Regions from separate parts of the Homo sapiens genome. Here regions 2, 3, 4 and 5 are each linked to region 1. Evidence: promoter capture Hi-C in 16 types of primary human blood cells and fetal thymus (Javierre and others, 2016). All regions are on one chromosome and are shown on one strand. Each heading gives the region's core, a stretch centred on a gene start or on the middle of the fragment in contact. The rest is flanking DNA. Distances are from core to core; before and after follow the strand shown. Region 1 holds the start of CLEC9A (C-type lectin domain containing 9A). Region 2 has its middle 17 kb from the start of KLRF1. Region 3 overlaps KLRF1 (killer cell lectin like receptor F1). Region 4 has its middle 5.8 kb from the start of GABARAPL1. Region 5 has its middle 31 kb from the start of CD69.

Region 1 (2,819 bases), core at 135-2,634:
TATATATACAAGAAAAAACTTTCCACAAGAACCTCCATGTCCTCATTTAGAATTTAATTTAATTTTTTACCTCACACACCTCTTTTTTTTTTTTTTTACTTCCACTTGACACCTTTCTGGGGTAATAGGTATGTTGTACCTGAATTCCACTCTCCCTCAAAATATCTGTCTCAAATTTGTATATACATTAGTAGGTATCAATCAGGAAGGTCTCCCTCAACCCATTCAATAGGCCCTGCCACAAAATTTGAAAAGTTTAAAAAATTCAGAGCCCTGCTTATGTACATGGGTGTACATTTTTGCAGACAAAAATCCCCTGTGCCCTACCTACTCAGCAATCTTCCCCCTTCCTATCAATCTTCCTCTTCCCCTGAATCATTGGTCACAACTGATCTCTTTGTTTTCTTTGTCTTGGTTTTTCTCGAATGTCATATAGCTAGGATAATATGATAGCTTTTCAAACCGGCTTCTTTCACGTAGTAATATGCATTTAAGATTCCTCCATGTTTTTCATAGTTTGACAACATTTCATTTTGTTGTCGAATGATACTCCATTGCATGAATGTACCACAGTTTGTTTATCCACTCATCTTTTGAAAGACATCATAATTACTTCTAATGTCTGGCAATTATGAATAAAGCTCCTGTGAAAATGTGTGTGCCAGTTTTTGTGTGTGTTGGGAGCAAGCCCCCCAAAATCCGGCCATAAACTGGCCCCAAAACTGGCCATAAACAAAATCTCTGCAGCACTGTGACATGTTCATGATGGCCCTAACACCCATGCTGGAAGGTGGTGGGTTTACGGGAATGAGGGCAAGGAGCAGCTGGCCCGCCCAGGGTGGAAAACCACTTAAAGACATTCTTAAGCCACAAACAATAGCATGAGCAATTTATGCCTTAAGGGCATGTTCCCGCTGCAGTTAACTAGCCCAACCTATTTCTTTAATTCGGCCCATCCCTTTGTTTCCCATAAGGGATACTTTCAGTTAACCTAATATCTACAGAAACCATGCTAATGACTGGCTTGCTGCTAATAAATACGTGGGTAAATCTCTGTTCGGGGCTCTCGGCTGTGAAGGCTGTGAGACCCCTCATTTCCCACTTCACACCTCTATATTTCTGTGTGTGTCTTTAATTCCTCTAGCGCCTCTGGGTTAGGGTCTCCCAGACCGAGCTGGTCTCAGCAGTGTGTACAGGTTTTCCACTTTCTATGGTTCCTAGATTGTCTGTTAATACTATACTTACCTCTATAAGAAACTGTCAAGTTTACCGGGCCGCGAGGGTGCAGGCTGCGCAGATGGTGTGGTCCTGCGCCCCGAGGGCCGCAGCAGCTCATCCGGCAGCTCCCACCCCAACAACCTGGAAGGGGGCGGGACTTCCGTTTGTACCCGGCTGTGGCAATCTGTGGTGAAGTTGAAATGCTTTTCTGCTAGACTGGCAACATGTTTTGATTCTTCTCAAATAACTCGCAAGCTCTTGTGAAGCACAACGGCCTACCTTGTCCTGAAGAAAACATACTCTAAGGCCCACAGATGATTAAACCCAGCCATTTATGTGACAATAGCATTTTTATTTTTCTTATCAAGATCTGGGTATTTGATCCACACAATGGTAAAGATTCCCATGTTAGCCAAGATCTAAATGATTCAAACTGATGATACTCTCTGCAGAAGAGGTAAGAACCACTGGCAGTAGGGTGGAAGGTATGTCATTACAGATGATGCTGACAGAGAAGGTCATCTGAACCTACTTTATAAGAAAGGCATGATTAAAGGAGAAAGGGGAAAGGGCATTCTAGGTTAGGAAAGATTCTGAAGAAATGTAAAATAATATGAAGGTGTGAGCTGATATATTTAAGAAATAATGAATGATATGTGGGAGTATGTATCATCTGCAGAGATGGATGAGGGAAGATGCAAGTGGAGGGGAAGGCTGGAGCCGCTGGTGGAAAGACGTTAAGTGTATTTCAATGGCCTGATACTGCAGGCAGTAGACAGCCTCTGTAAATCAGGTAGCTTCCTTACTCTTGCTCCTACTGATCCCTCAGTCTAAAATGCCCTCTGCACTTTCTCTTTAGAGATAGAGAGGGAAAGGGAGTCAAACACGAAATCTCCAGGAGGCCATCCCTGGTTATTTCTTACTCCTCTGTTGATTTCCTTTAATCTGTGAAGTGTCTTCTAACTCGTGGCCTGAGGCTTTAGTGACTCTGCTGACTCATTGTCTGGTGCTACTGATTGTGCTAATGGTCTTCGATATTGTGTCCAGTGCCCCCCACCATTTTGGGAAGAAATTGGCTTTAGTTTTTACTCAGATTGAAATTTTATTTAGAAACGGGAGTAGCAAGACCAGGTGCAGTTAGTTACACCTGTAATCCCAGCATTTTGGAAGGCCAAGGTGGGAGGATTGCTTGAAGCCAGGAGGTTGAGAAATGGGAGTAGCAACCAATGTCGGTAGAAGAAACAGCATATAATAACAGGATGTGATAAATCTCAAGAAAAGTTACGCACAAATTACTATGGCAGCAGGAACGAGTGAGCCGCCCGATGCTGTCAGTGAAGGCTCTGAGGATTGGGAAGGATTGGCAGGGTTACAGGAGACAAACAAATGCTACAAATAACATTCCAAGTAGAAGGGGAAGTGAGGGTAGGGAAAGGAATGCAGACAAGGCTGAGCCTTGTTTGGAGAGCTAAGTTCAGTGTTGCAGATGCTCAATGTCATACCTTAGGAGGGAATTGCAAATTAAAACAACAATGAGAAACCACTGTATACTATTTGAATGACTAAAATCCAAAATACTCACAACATCCAATGCTGGCAAG
Region 2 (2,793 bases), core at 52-2,551, 220 kb before region 1:
ATTTCGGAGAAAATTGAGAGTTTAGCGAGATGAATTTTTTAAGTGTATTAAAATCTAAACTGAAGAAGTTAACAAGATGGGAAGAATTGCCTTTATTTGTAGATGTATGCAAGAGCACTAGGGGAAATTCAATGACCAACAAGCTCAAAATAAGATTGTGTGAAGTAATGAATTTTAGGTAAAATCAATACAAATATATCTAAAAAGAAAGGGTGGGACTTTTTTCCTCCATTCCTGGCCCAATTCTTTGAAATAATTTTTATGTGATTGTTTCAAACCATCTTAACTTTCTCTTAGTTTTCCTCTGCATACATGCACATATGTAAATGCCTACTTTTAAGAGTACAGATGAGAAAAAACAGGGATTTGAATTAGTTGAAACCGTAACTTAAGTATTATTTCCAGGAACTAAAGCTACTTAGCCAGAATCAGGAAAAGGGCTGCTGGGAATAAGTTTGTTAACGTAAATTGTTCCAACAGCTGTCATATTGATGTTACGCTTAGTTTACTGGCTCCAGAAGGCAGAATTGATACCAATTCTTGAAAGAAGCATCCATATACCCCAGTTAATTTTGATTATGTCATGAGATTTTGTGTAGTATTCAAAGATAAATTGTTATTATTGTTGGAAAAAGCGGGTTACTTAGATTTAAACTTAGGTTAAGAAAATTGATTTAAAAAAATAAGTTCCACTTTCAAAAGTTGTTATTCTATTGATAAATCTGTTTTTTTTAATGCTGCTTTATTTGATGTAAAACTACTGTTTTGAAAATATTGACTGTGCCTATGGATTAATGTATCAAACAAAATCACCCCATGAATAAATCAAATATTTATTTATTTACCTGAAGTATACAAAAGGAGAATGACATAAAGATCAATTAGCAAGGTTGATAAATCTGCAAGAAACAAGCTTCTCAGTCCTAAATTTCATCATTAAATCACTGAAACTCAGAGTTGTGAATGACAACATCTGAATAGTGAGTGTCAACATAGATTTTCTACAAGCTTGAGGGTTTTTATCTAGGAACAATTCTGTTTGTAGGTCATCCTGGATATATTCAAGGGACCATTATTTTTGGTATTATACAATATAACTTGATGTTCTCATAGTCAAATGTGAATGCATTTCTCATACTTTATCTGAATCCTCCCAAATTAACAATGTGGTCCAAGTATATTCCCAAAATTAGAGTTTCTGAGCCTGAACGGAAGTTAAGCTCCCAGAAATCGCAGGTAGCTGTGTTAATAAGTGGTTAGAATAACTAGGGCTTATCTTTTGTGTGTCCTTTGATAAATTTAAACAAATTAAATTCCTCTCCAAGATAGGTCTGATTCACAAACTTAATGACTATATGCTTAAATTTTCACCTATAGTTTAATGAAATGTTTGTTTTTAAAAGATGTTTGAAGTCTAAAATAGACTCCCCAAACAGTGTCTGACATGTAATAAGTCCTCAGAAAATAATTCATAAATATTGAATGACTAGTAGGATATTAAAATGTGGTCATTCCTGCTGTTTACTTTTATCTGAGGGCACAAATGTCAAGAACAATTCTATAGGTGCTAGACCTCCTATATAGGACATGCTAACAAGCTTGCAAAAGTGTTTATTTCAAATTTCGATCTATCATCTACTTTCAGAGCACATTAAGAGTTTATGAGTGTTCAGAGATTAGGAAGTGAGAATTTTTTTTATGAAGTGACTTGCCAGTGTACTTCCCATTTCCCAATATCTTTCTGTGTCAATAAGCAAAAGAACTTCTCTTTTACCTTAAGCCAAGTTTGGATTCTGTCATATATTGGCAAGTGTCCTCTGGGAGTTGGAGGTTGCAGAGGTGAACACTTTCAGTATGTGAGTTTGTTAGAACTACACATAACCACAGAGTAAAAGCAGATGTGTAGATTAAGCCACACTTCCAGCAATGGTGAGGCTGAAGGGAGTGTTTCCTGTGGGCCGGATGAAGATCTCATACAAAGCAGCCATTTGGGAACCATCCTAAAATAAAATTCACCTAAGACTGCTTCTTACCACAGGCAAGTCAGCCTCAATGAAAAGAAGCTGGAAGTATAGAGTAGAAAGCAAAAAAAAAAAAGGTACCTGGGGAGTTGTGAGGGGTGAGGTACAGTGATTTGCAAGCAGGATTGCCAAAGGAGACATCACACATCAGACAACTGCAGAGTACCCCAGGAGCAGAATTTCTGAAAAACCCATAGAAGTAGTCCAAAAAAAAAAAAAAAAAGAGAGAAAACATTTGGAGTGTCAGCATACAGATTAAAACTGTCCAGGCTGGTAACATCTTTATTCCGTGTTTATTTCTATTCCCTTTGTTTCACCTTCACTCATTCTGGGGATCAGGGTTGGGGAATGGAAAGAGATACTAGAGAGGGAAGAAGCTCATGCAGAGCCCGTTATACTCACTTGCCCCCTTAATGGTCCCAAACTAAGCAGATCCAATCCAAGCTGAGAGAGAGGAAAAGTGTTAAATTAGATAAAAGTTGGACTTAAGATATTAGGCGGAATTGGATCTTTTATTATCTTCATTATCAAAAGACCATGAGATCCACAAAGGAAGGAAAGGAGAAGACTTTATTTTCAGAGGGAAAAATAACCCTAGAATTAGGGAAATGCAGCTTTCGGGAAAATCCGAAAGTTCACTCTCTGAAGAAGTGAGAGGGGGCTGGTATACATGTCTTATACAGTCAGTTTTACATACATACTGAGCAGGGTTGGGAAAATTCTGTGAATACTTATGAATATTCATGAAGGAAGTCAAGCACTAGTGCATTGG
Region 3 (2,700 bases), core at 16-2,515, 200 kb before region 1:
TGGCTAATTTTTTGCGTTTTTAGTAGAGATGGGGTTTTACCATGTTGGCCAGGCTGGTCTTGAACTCCTGACCTCAGGTGATCCACCCACCTGAGTCTTCCAAAGTGTTGGGATTATAGGCATGAGCCACCGCGCCCAGCCTTTAATACTAATTTTTAATTCAACTTCTCAAAAACTTTATGCTTTTCACCAAGTTGACTCAAAATAAAGTTTATACACCAGCAATCAACATTTTAATTTGCTACTTCAAGCATACCCTCCATACACAATGCAATTCCATCATGCCACCTTAATGTGATTTGGCAAAAGAGATAAGCAGAAATTAAAGACACAAATAATCACAGTTATAGAGACTGTCTGTTCTGTTCTGTTGCTTTCTAAATATTTCTCTTTTAATAACTTCACCCATGAAAATTTTACTTATCTCTTGAGTCCTTCCACAAGTATCATCCATCAGTGATTCATCTTAGAGTTACATACGTGCTATGTATAAGAAATTTATTGCCTCTTCCATGTGAATTTTTAGATTCCCATATTTTCAAGTCTTTACTTCCTACACTCAATTTTTATTTCATTTTTGGAAATTAGAGATATTAAACCTGAAAGACTACAACATGTAGTGACTTCTCTGCAGACTTTTTTCCACACTCTGTTCATAAATGTCTCTCTGAAGCAAAAATGTGCAGATTTTCGGCTCCCAGATATTTAAGTGACACATACTAATATTTATGTCTTGTACCTTTAGCTAATATTTATTAAAGCTTGAGGTAAGACGTATTTTATGTGAATTAGATTGACAATGTGAGCCTTGGGGTTATGATGTTCATTCATTTAACTTAATTTTGTGATGACATATTTGTAAATCTTTTCTCATATATTGAAAAACCTTTGTTGCCAGTGATAGTAAGAAATTACATAATTGCTCTATCCCACTATACATATGTAGTAGTTTCAGAATCACTATAGAAATAATATTATAATAATAGTTACTTAAAACAGATTAAAATGTTTTGCGGTTTTAAAAAATCCTTAAGATATATTCCATTGAGCATGCACAGTTAAATGTTTTAAAATCACTTTAAGTAATTCCTCTCTCTATAGTGAAGACACTAACAATACCTAGTTAGATTCCTTTTCTTCATTTTTTATGGATTTTTTTTCATTTTTGTTTAACTTACTTTATAGTAGCATAAAACATTTACATATTTTCAGTCAAACTTATATAATGAGGGGCCAAGTGTGGTGGCTCATGCCATTAATCCCAGCACTTTGGAAGGCCGAGGCAGGATGATCGCTTGAGGCCAGGAGTTCAAGACCTGCCTGGGCAACAAATCAAGACCCCCATCTCTACAAACAATAGAGATAAAAAAATTAATCAGTCATGGTGGCACATGCCTGTAGTCCTAGCTACACAGGGTGCTCAGGAGGGAGGATCTCTGAGCCCAGGAGCTCAAGGTTACAAAGAGCTCTAATGGTGCCACTGCACTCCAACCTGAGCAACAGAGCGAGACCCTGTCTCAAATAAATAAATAAGAATTTAAAAAGTTTAAAAAATTACTTTCAGAGAAATCCACCTTGCATAAATCCAGCACCCTTCATAAAATTTACCATTTTGTATTTCTATATTTCCAGTGTTTACTTAGCTATTCTCACTCTTTTGTTCTTTCAGATAACTTTATAAAAAATTATTCAGGCTCACTCACCACAAACAACAACAAATAAAACAACCCGATGTAGCTTTTACGTCTAAATTACTTCCTAGTCTGTCATTAAGCTTAGGGAGAATTTATATTTTTGACACATAGTTTTCTTATCCAAGCACATGATCAAATTAATGTTACTCAGTTTTCGGTTAGTTTTGTTTTGTTTTGTTTGTATTGGGTTGGGACACTTGTCGAGTTTCTGTCTAGTTTTCTTTTTGTTTGTTTTTTTTGGTTAACTATCCGTGAGTAATGAATTTCTTTCATCTATGTTTTCACAGTGGTTACTGGATTATACAGGGCACTGATTTTAGTATGTTATTTTTATAAATGCAGCTACTATTTTTTGTTTCTGGAATTAACGGTAGTTTTTCAATTGATTCTTTTATTTTACCAAATCTGCACTCACATTACCTTCAAATAATTTTACCTTCTTTTTCTAATATTTCTACCTGTAATTAGAATATTTTTCTTCATTGAATTATATATTACCTCTTCGTATTAAAAAGTAGTGGAGATTTGAGCTATCTTTCTTTTTCTGGACTTAAGCAGAAAACCTTCTTTCAGTTTTCTCAATTGAATAAGATGTTAGCTTCATTAGACATAAAACTATTATGTTGAACAAGTATCTATTAATTTCTGTTTTTTAACATAAAGATATAAGATTTTATCAATTTCATTTTTTACATCTATTGAGATGATGATAGATTTTTTTCCTTAGCTTTATTAATATAATATTAATATGGATTTCCTCCTATTGAATAATCTTTATATTCCTAGAATAAACCAATCATGGTTATAATATATTTTGGTTGCTGATAATGTATTTACCATTTTTGTACAGACATTCATAAGACTGATTTTGGTTTTCCATTTTATTATTTCTGGTTTTGGGTGGTTAAAAGGCTTGTGTTTTAACCTTTATAAGTTAAATTAAACCATTTCCTTATAGGAGAAAACACAGGATAATGAAAGTTTTACTTTCTCCATTATTCAGCAT
Region 4 (2,873 bases), core at 145-2,644, 180 kb after region 1:
GGCAGAGAAATGTTGCCCCCTGGAATATACAGGTTGGATATAGGAGGTATGGCTCTAGATTGGTGAGTTTGCATATGAAAGGCAGGTTCTCAGCTGAGCCCTTGCTATCTCTAAGAACTGGTTAGGTCTGGTAAAGACAGTCTCTCCCCAGCCAGAATTTTTTTTTTAATGTAAAAACACCATAATATACAGAAAATAAGAAAATAAACTATCTCTCACTACTGGAACGGGCTATCTGAAACTAGGGACCTGAATGCCCTTAGAACTCCCCCAAACTCTGTATATATTTCTATGTCTCTCTATCCCTATCATATAACTTGCCTCTCTGAGTGTTATCTTTATCTCATTTATCTGGTGACTGCTTGAGACCAAAACGATAGCAGCCCCTGATCTCATAGCATCCACTATGGTCTGAACGTGTGTTTCCTCGCCAAATTTGTACACTGAAATCCTAACCCATAAGATGATGTTATTAGGAGGTGAGGCCTTTGGTAGGTGATTAAGTCATGAGAATGGAACCCTCATAAATGGATTAGTGCCGTTATAAAAGAGGCCTGAGACAGAACCCTCTTTCTTTCCTTCTGCTATGTGAGGTTGGAGTGAGAAGGCAGCTGTCTATGAGGAAGCAGGCCCTCACCAGATAGTTAATCAGCTGGCACCTTGATCTCGGACTTCCCAGTCTCCTGAACTGTGAGAAATGAATCTCTGTTGTTTATAAGCCACCCAGTCTATGGTATTTTGTTATAGCAGCTGGAATGGACTAAGACATCATCTAAACTTCGTCATCAAAGAAGAAGGGGCTCCTTTCCTTTAGTTCATATGTAAGAAATTCTAAGGAAAAATTCTGATTAATCTTATGGCCAAGGCAATGAGATTTTATGATTGGTGAGTTCCACTAGAACCATGCGGTGTCAATGTAAAAAGAGTAGTTACTTCTGAAACCATACATATATCCCCCCCCGCACCCCCCACCCGAAAAAAAAAAGGACATGTAATGGGCATCATGTTTTTTGTTCGTTTGTTTGTTTGTTTGAGACGTAGTTTTGCTCTTGTTGCCCAAGCTGGAGTTCAATGGCACGATCTCGGCTCACTGCAACCTCCACCTCCCAGTTCAAGCAATTATCCTATCTCAGCCTCTCAAGTAACTGGGATTATAGGCGCGAGCCACTACGCCTGGCTAACTTTTTGTATTTTTAGTAGAAACAAGGTTTCAGCATATTAGCTATACTGGTCTTGAACTCCTGACCTCAGGTGATCTGCCCACCTCAGCCTCCCAAAGTGCTGGGATTACAGGTGTGAGCCACCACACCCAGCCAGCATCATCTTATCTAATGAACAATGCATCATTATCAGTGCTATGGCAAAGATAAGCACACAATACTTTGCAAGTGCCTAGAAGGAATACAGAACTCAGGCAAAGGAGATCAAAAGGTTTCCTAGAGAAGATGATGCCTGAACTAAACCCTGAATGTTTTATAGAAACTAGTCAGAAAAAAAAAGGGAGAAAACGTTTTCACAGGAAGGAGGCTTTGAATATCCAGTGGTCTGAAACAATACCAATATAGGGAAAATAATTTAGTATGCCTGAACCATAGAGTACAATGATAGGAAATGGCTATATATGAGCCTCAAGAGAGAAACAACAGCCTGATTGTAAGTACTCTATTTCCGTTGTAAAGAATTTGAACTGTCTCCCAAAGATTACAGAGAATGCTGACCACTGAATGATATTAAGAAGAGAAATGACACAATGAAATATAGCTTTATTACATTTAGTCTGGCATCAGTGAGCTCTCTTTTTCCTAGAAGTGGGAAAGACAAGACTGAACACTATTTACTAATGTGTTTGAGTAATAATGTTTTGTTTGTTTGTTTGTTTGTTATTTTGAGGTGGAGTTTCACTCTTGTTGCCCAGGCTGGAGTGCAATGCCGCGATCTTGGCTCACTGCACCCTCTGCCTCCCGGGTTCAAGTGATTCTCCTGCCTCAGCCTTCTGAGTAGCTTGGATTACAGGCATGCACCACCACGCCCAGCTAATTTTGTATTCTTAGTAGAGACGGGGTTTCTCCATGTTGGTCAGGCTAGTCTCAAACTCCCGACCTCAGGTGATCTGCCCGCCTTGGCCTCCCAAAGTGCTGGGGTTACAGGCGTGAGCCACCGCGCCTGGCCCAATAGTGGTGATTTTGAAGCATATTCTCAGATTCTCCAATACTTCCTCCAGGTAGAAGTGGAGTCTGTGGCACCTTCCTTTGAATCTGAGCAGAACTTTGTGACTGCTCTGAGAAACAGAATGAGGCAGAAGTGTCCCTTTCAAATTAAAATGACTAGATTACAAGAGGCCATGTGCTTTCTGCTGACTTCTTTTGGCAAATTTGCCCAGAGAGCCCATAGGTACCATGAAAGAAGTTTAGCTAGCCTGCAGCCACTATGGGAAGAGACCCATGGTGAGATCCTATAGAGAAAGGAAGAGGTGGCTGAGGAGCGCCAATTGTTTGAGTCTTCCCAGTCCAACTACCAAAACTGCTAGTGAAGAAGCCTTCCAAGAAGATCCTATCACCAGTCACTAATTAAAACCAAAGCTGAGCCCCATTACTTCAGATTTGTGAGCAAAATAGATGATGCTATTATCTTAAGCCATTCCTTTGAGGTGGTTTGCTATATAGCAACAGATCATTAGAACGAAGCCAAAATTTTTAAAAAATGAAGATTAAACTAAGGTAGTGGCAGCTGCAATGAAGCAATGTAAGCACACAAATTATTAAGGAGGAAAACCCACTCATGTATAGTTCAGGGGCAGGAAATATTTTCCTAGTCTTGGAGTCAGCCAGGCACATCGTGGTGGTATTTGACACTTGATCTGTGGATGGCAGCTT
Region 5 (2,770 bases), core at 199-2,698, 240 kb before region 1:
CATGCTGTTTTGTTTATGATAGCCTTGTAGTATAATTTGAAGTCAGGTAATGTGATGCCTCCAGATTTGTTCTTTTTACTTAGGATTGCTTTGGCTATTCAGGCTCTTTTTTTGGTTCCATATGAATTTTAGAATTGTTTTCTGTAGTTCTGTGAAAAATGATGTTGATATTTTCATGGGAATTGCATTGAATCAGTAGATTGCTTTGGGCAGTGTGGTCATTTTCATGATATTGATGATCATATTATTATAGAAATTATTAAGAAATTATTTCAGGCAGATAGGATAAGTGGTCCTTGGTAAGGTTTTTTTCTTTAAATAAAAGCAGCTCCAGAAACATTTCTTTTTTAGCAAAAAAATGGCTTGAAGGGCCAAGCCAGCAAGCTTTGATATGCAAATGCTGGCTATTAGAAGCTGGGTCCATCCAATATGGCAAGTCCCACCTTCTTCTCCTTGTCACCACATGTGCCAAGCATCATGGCACCCCCAGAGGTCTCCACTGTGCAGAAAATCATGGCGGCCTGCATTTGCATATTAAAAGACTAGGGTGGGAGAGCCAGTTTTTTTGCAGGCTATGTGAATGACATACTAAGTCAAACCAATCCCCTGGGCCTATAAAAATCAGACACCACCTCCTCCAGCCTTCTAATATAACAGATTGTTTCCACCATACTTGGGGTTTCCTCTCTCTGCTTGGAGCCACCCCCACCCCTCACCGACCCCCCGTCTCTGTAGCTGGGAGCTTCTTCTTTCTTTCTTGCCTATTAAACTCTCTGTTCCTTAAAACCACTCCATGTGTGTCCATGTTGTCTTATCTAAATTGGCGTGAGACAAAGGACTCTGGTGTTCCTCCATTCATTGAAGCTGTATCAATATTTTGTATCATTTCAATGAACTACTATAGGCAGCCCATCCCTTAAGTTTCCCTCTTAAGTTTTTTGGTCAGCTTTTCCTTTGCCCCAGCTGTTATTCCATATTAAGCAGCTGCAATGTACAGCAATAGGTGCTGATTGTTTTTGTCAAATACCCCTAGGGAAAAAGTCATTTGCACTGAGCGAGCTCTGTTTGAGATCAACTAAAGTCGTAGGTGGGAATTTCCAAGATCATGTTTGATAGTTTGAATAATGACAGTACTCTAAGAATAATTTTTGGGACTTCTAAACCCTTTATGGCCCCTCTGAGACCTGTTGGGCTACAGTTCACTACTGCTACTATAGTTGTAAGACCTACTATAGTTTTTCAAGGCTACTGTGAAGCTGAGGAATACGGAATAGGAATAGAGCAAGTTAAATCTCCACAAAGGTCACTGTTTTCAATTAAATTCACCTATTTTCTTGAGTAAATGCTTGCCAGATTTTTGCAAGTCTTTGGTTAATTCACAGTATTCTGAGGAAGTTTGTTTTGACAGTTTTTGTCAATGTTCTTGTTGATTTTATGAAGGAATAGCTTTTTGTAGGTCTTTATTCCACTGTTTCTGCTCATGTCTGGCAAGACAATTAAGCAGGTAATTATGAGGGCATGTAGAACACATCTTGGAGAATTTATTCTCAAGGTGGCATTCTATAAAATTATGTAAATATTTAATCTGAGAAGTGAAAGATGAGACAGTTTTCCAGGTGAATAAGGCAGAGGAAAAACAACAACAACAACAACTTTGTAGACAAGGGTAAAATGTACAAGTCTTAGAGATGGGAGAAAGAATGGTCCACTACAGTGAGACTGAAGAATGGAACAAGAGACAAAGCCAGATTACAGGGTGAAATCAATGCTGTTAAATAGTCTGGAATTATTCTAAGTGCAGAAAGAAAGTAATAAATTCTTATAAATTTGGGACAAATTGCAATTAGATATTAATTTTTGGAAGTTAACAGGTGCAATTTTTGGAAGTTACTCAGTCTAACAGGTGCAAGATGAACTGGAATAAAGGGATACCATAGAGAGATGACTGCCTTTAAGACCAATGCAGTGGAAGTAGAGATGATGGAAAGTTGTTGAATTAAAGACATTACTAGTCATTACAGTCTATGATTTATTAGGTAGGGTCATTTAATCAGAAAAAAATGCAGACAGAGAGTCAAGGATGGCCTTCATGCTTTGATTCCTAAAACTGTGGGCAGTATTCTTTCAAATGAGTCAGAAATTAGGGGGTAAAATTAGATTTAGAAAAGAATCAAAATGATCACTTTTGTTTCTGGAATATGTGGGAGATTGAGTTGGATATTTTAATGGACTTTTGGATATATGCTGCTAGCCCTAAGCAAAGGAGTCTGATCAGGAAAATTTATCTATCTATCTATCTATCTATCTATCTATCTATCTATCTATCCATCTATCTATCTATCTATCTGCATATATGTGTGTATATATGTATATATATGTGTGTGTGTGTGTGTATATATATATATATGTCTTCCTTATCTTTTGATTTAAAAACTGGTTTTCCATTTACAATGGGTGCAATGGTGTGTCTCCACTTTGGACTGAAGCCTCATTGTCTCAGCACCTGGGAGTCAGAAGCTTTCAACTGAATCTTCCTTGTATGGCTCTCAGCTAAACAGAAGTGCCTTCTCAAAGTCACACTTTCTCCCAGTGCCAGATGTATCAAACGGCTGGTTCGTGTGGGAGTATAAAAGCTTGGACTTGTTGCCTTATATCAAGATAAACTTGAAAGGGCACTCACCTCCAGAGCTCCCTATACTGTTAGCTGAAGCCTTTGTGTTACTGCATCACAATTCAATATCTGCCTTTGCCCAATCCTTTCTTTCTCATC

What was found. The method cuts DNA at HindIII sites, captures the fragments that hold promoters and counts their contacts. A CHiCAGO score of 5 or more calls a contact.
Region 2: a contact is called between a fragment that was not itself captured here and the fragment with the promoter of CLEC9A in region 1, in 6 of 17 cell types (megakaryocytes, M2 macrophages, M0 macrophages and 3 more). The highest score is 13.6, in megakaryocytes.
Region 3: a contact is called between a fragment that was not itself captured here and the fragment with the promoter of CLEC9A in region 1, in 2 of 17 cell types (megakaryocytes and neutrophils). The highest score is 5.7, in megakaryocytes.
Region 4: a contact is called between a fragment that was not itself captured here and the fragment with the promoter of CLEC9A in region 1, in 5 of 17 cell types (monocytes, neutrophils, M0 macrophages and 2 more). The highest score is 15.5, in monocytes.
Region 5: a fragment that was not itself captured here is called in contact with the fragment with the promoter of CLEC9A in region 1 in 1 of 17 cell types (neutrophils); the score reaches 5.1 in neutrophils.

The regions. Positions count from the first base shown.
Region 1 is chr12:10,029,298-10,032,116 of GRCh38, forward strand. It overlaps CLEC9A (C-type lectin domain containing 9A), which reads left to right and starts at 1,385. Exons shown (of 9, transcript NM_207345.4): 1 at 1,385-1,675. It overlaps LOC102724020 (a long non-coding RNA gene), which reads right to left and starts at 1,326. Exons shown (of 4, transcript NR_169587.1): 1 at 1,246-1,326. The HindIII fragment of the contact is 4,478 bases long and covers 1-2,819 here.
Region 2 is chr12:9,809,093-9,811,885 of GRCh38, forward strand. It overlaps a transcript of KLRF1 not described here. Among named protein-coding and RNA genes, the nearest start is that of KLRF1, 17 kb to the right of the region's middle. The HindIII fragment of the contact is 590 bases long and covers 1,007-1,596 here.
Region 3 is chr12:9,828,240-9,830,939 of GRCh38, forward strand. All of the region lies in intron 1 of KLRF1 (killer cell lectin like receptor F1), which reads left to right. Among named protein-coding and RNA genes, the nearest start is that of KLRF1, 2.1 kb to the left of the region's middle. The HindIII fragment of the contact is 1,013 bases long and covers 760-1,772 here.
Region 4 is chr12:10,205,690-10,208,562 of GRCh38, forward strand. No RefSeq gene overlaps it. Among named protein-coding and RNA genes, the nearest start is that of GABARAPL1, 5.8 kb to the right of the region's middle. The HindIII fragment of the contact is 3,050 bases long and covers 1-2,873 here.
Region 5 is chr12:9,790,048-9,792,817 of GRCh38, forward strand. No RefSeq gene overlaps it. Among named protein-coding and RNA genes, the nearest start is that of CD69, 31 kb to the left of the region's middle. The HindIII fragment of the contact is 2,133 bases long and covers 383-2,515 here.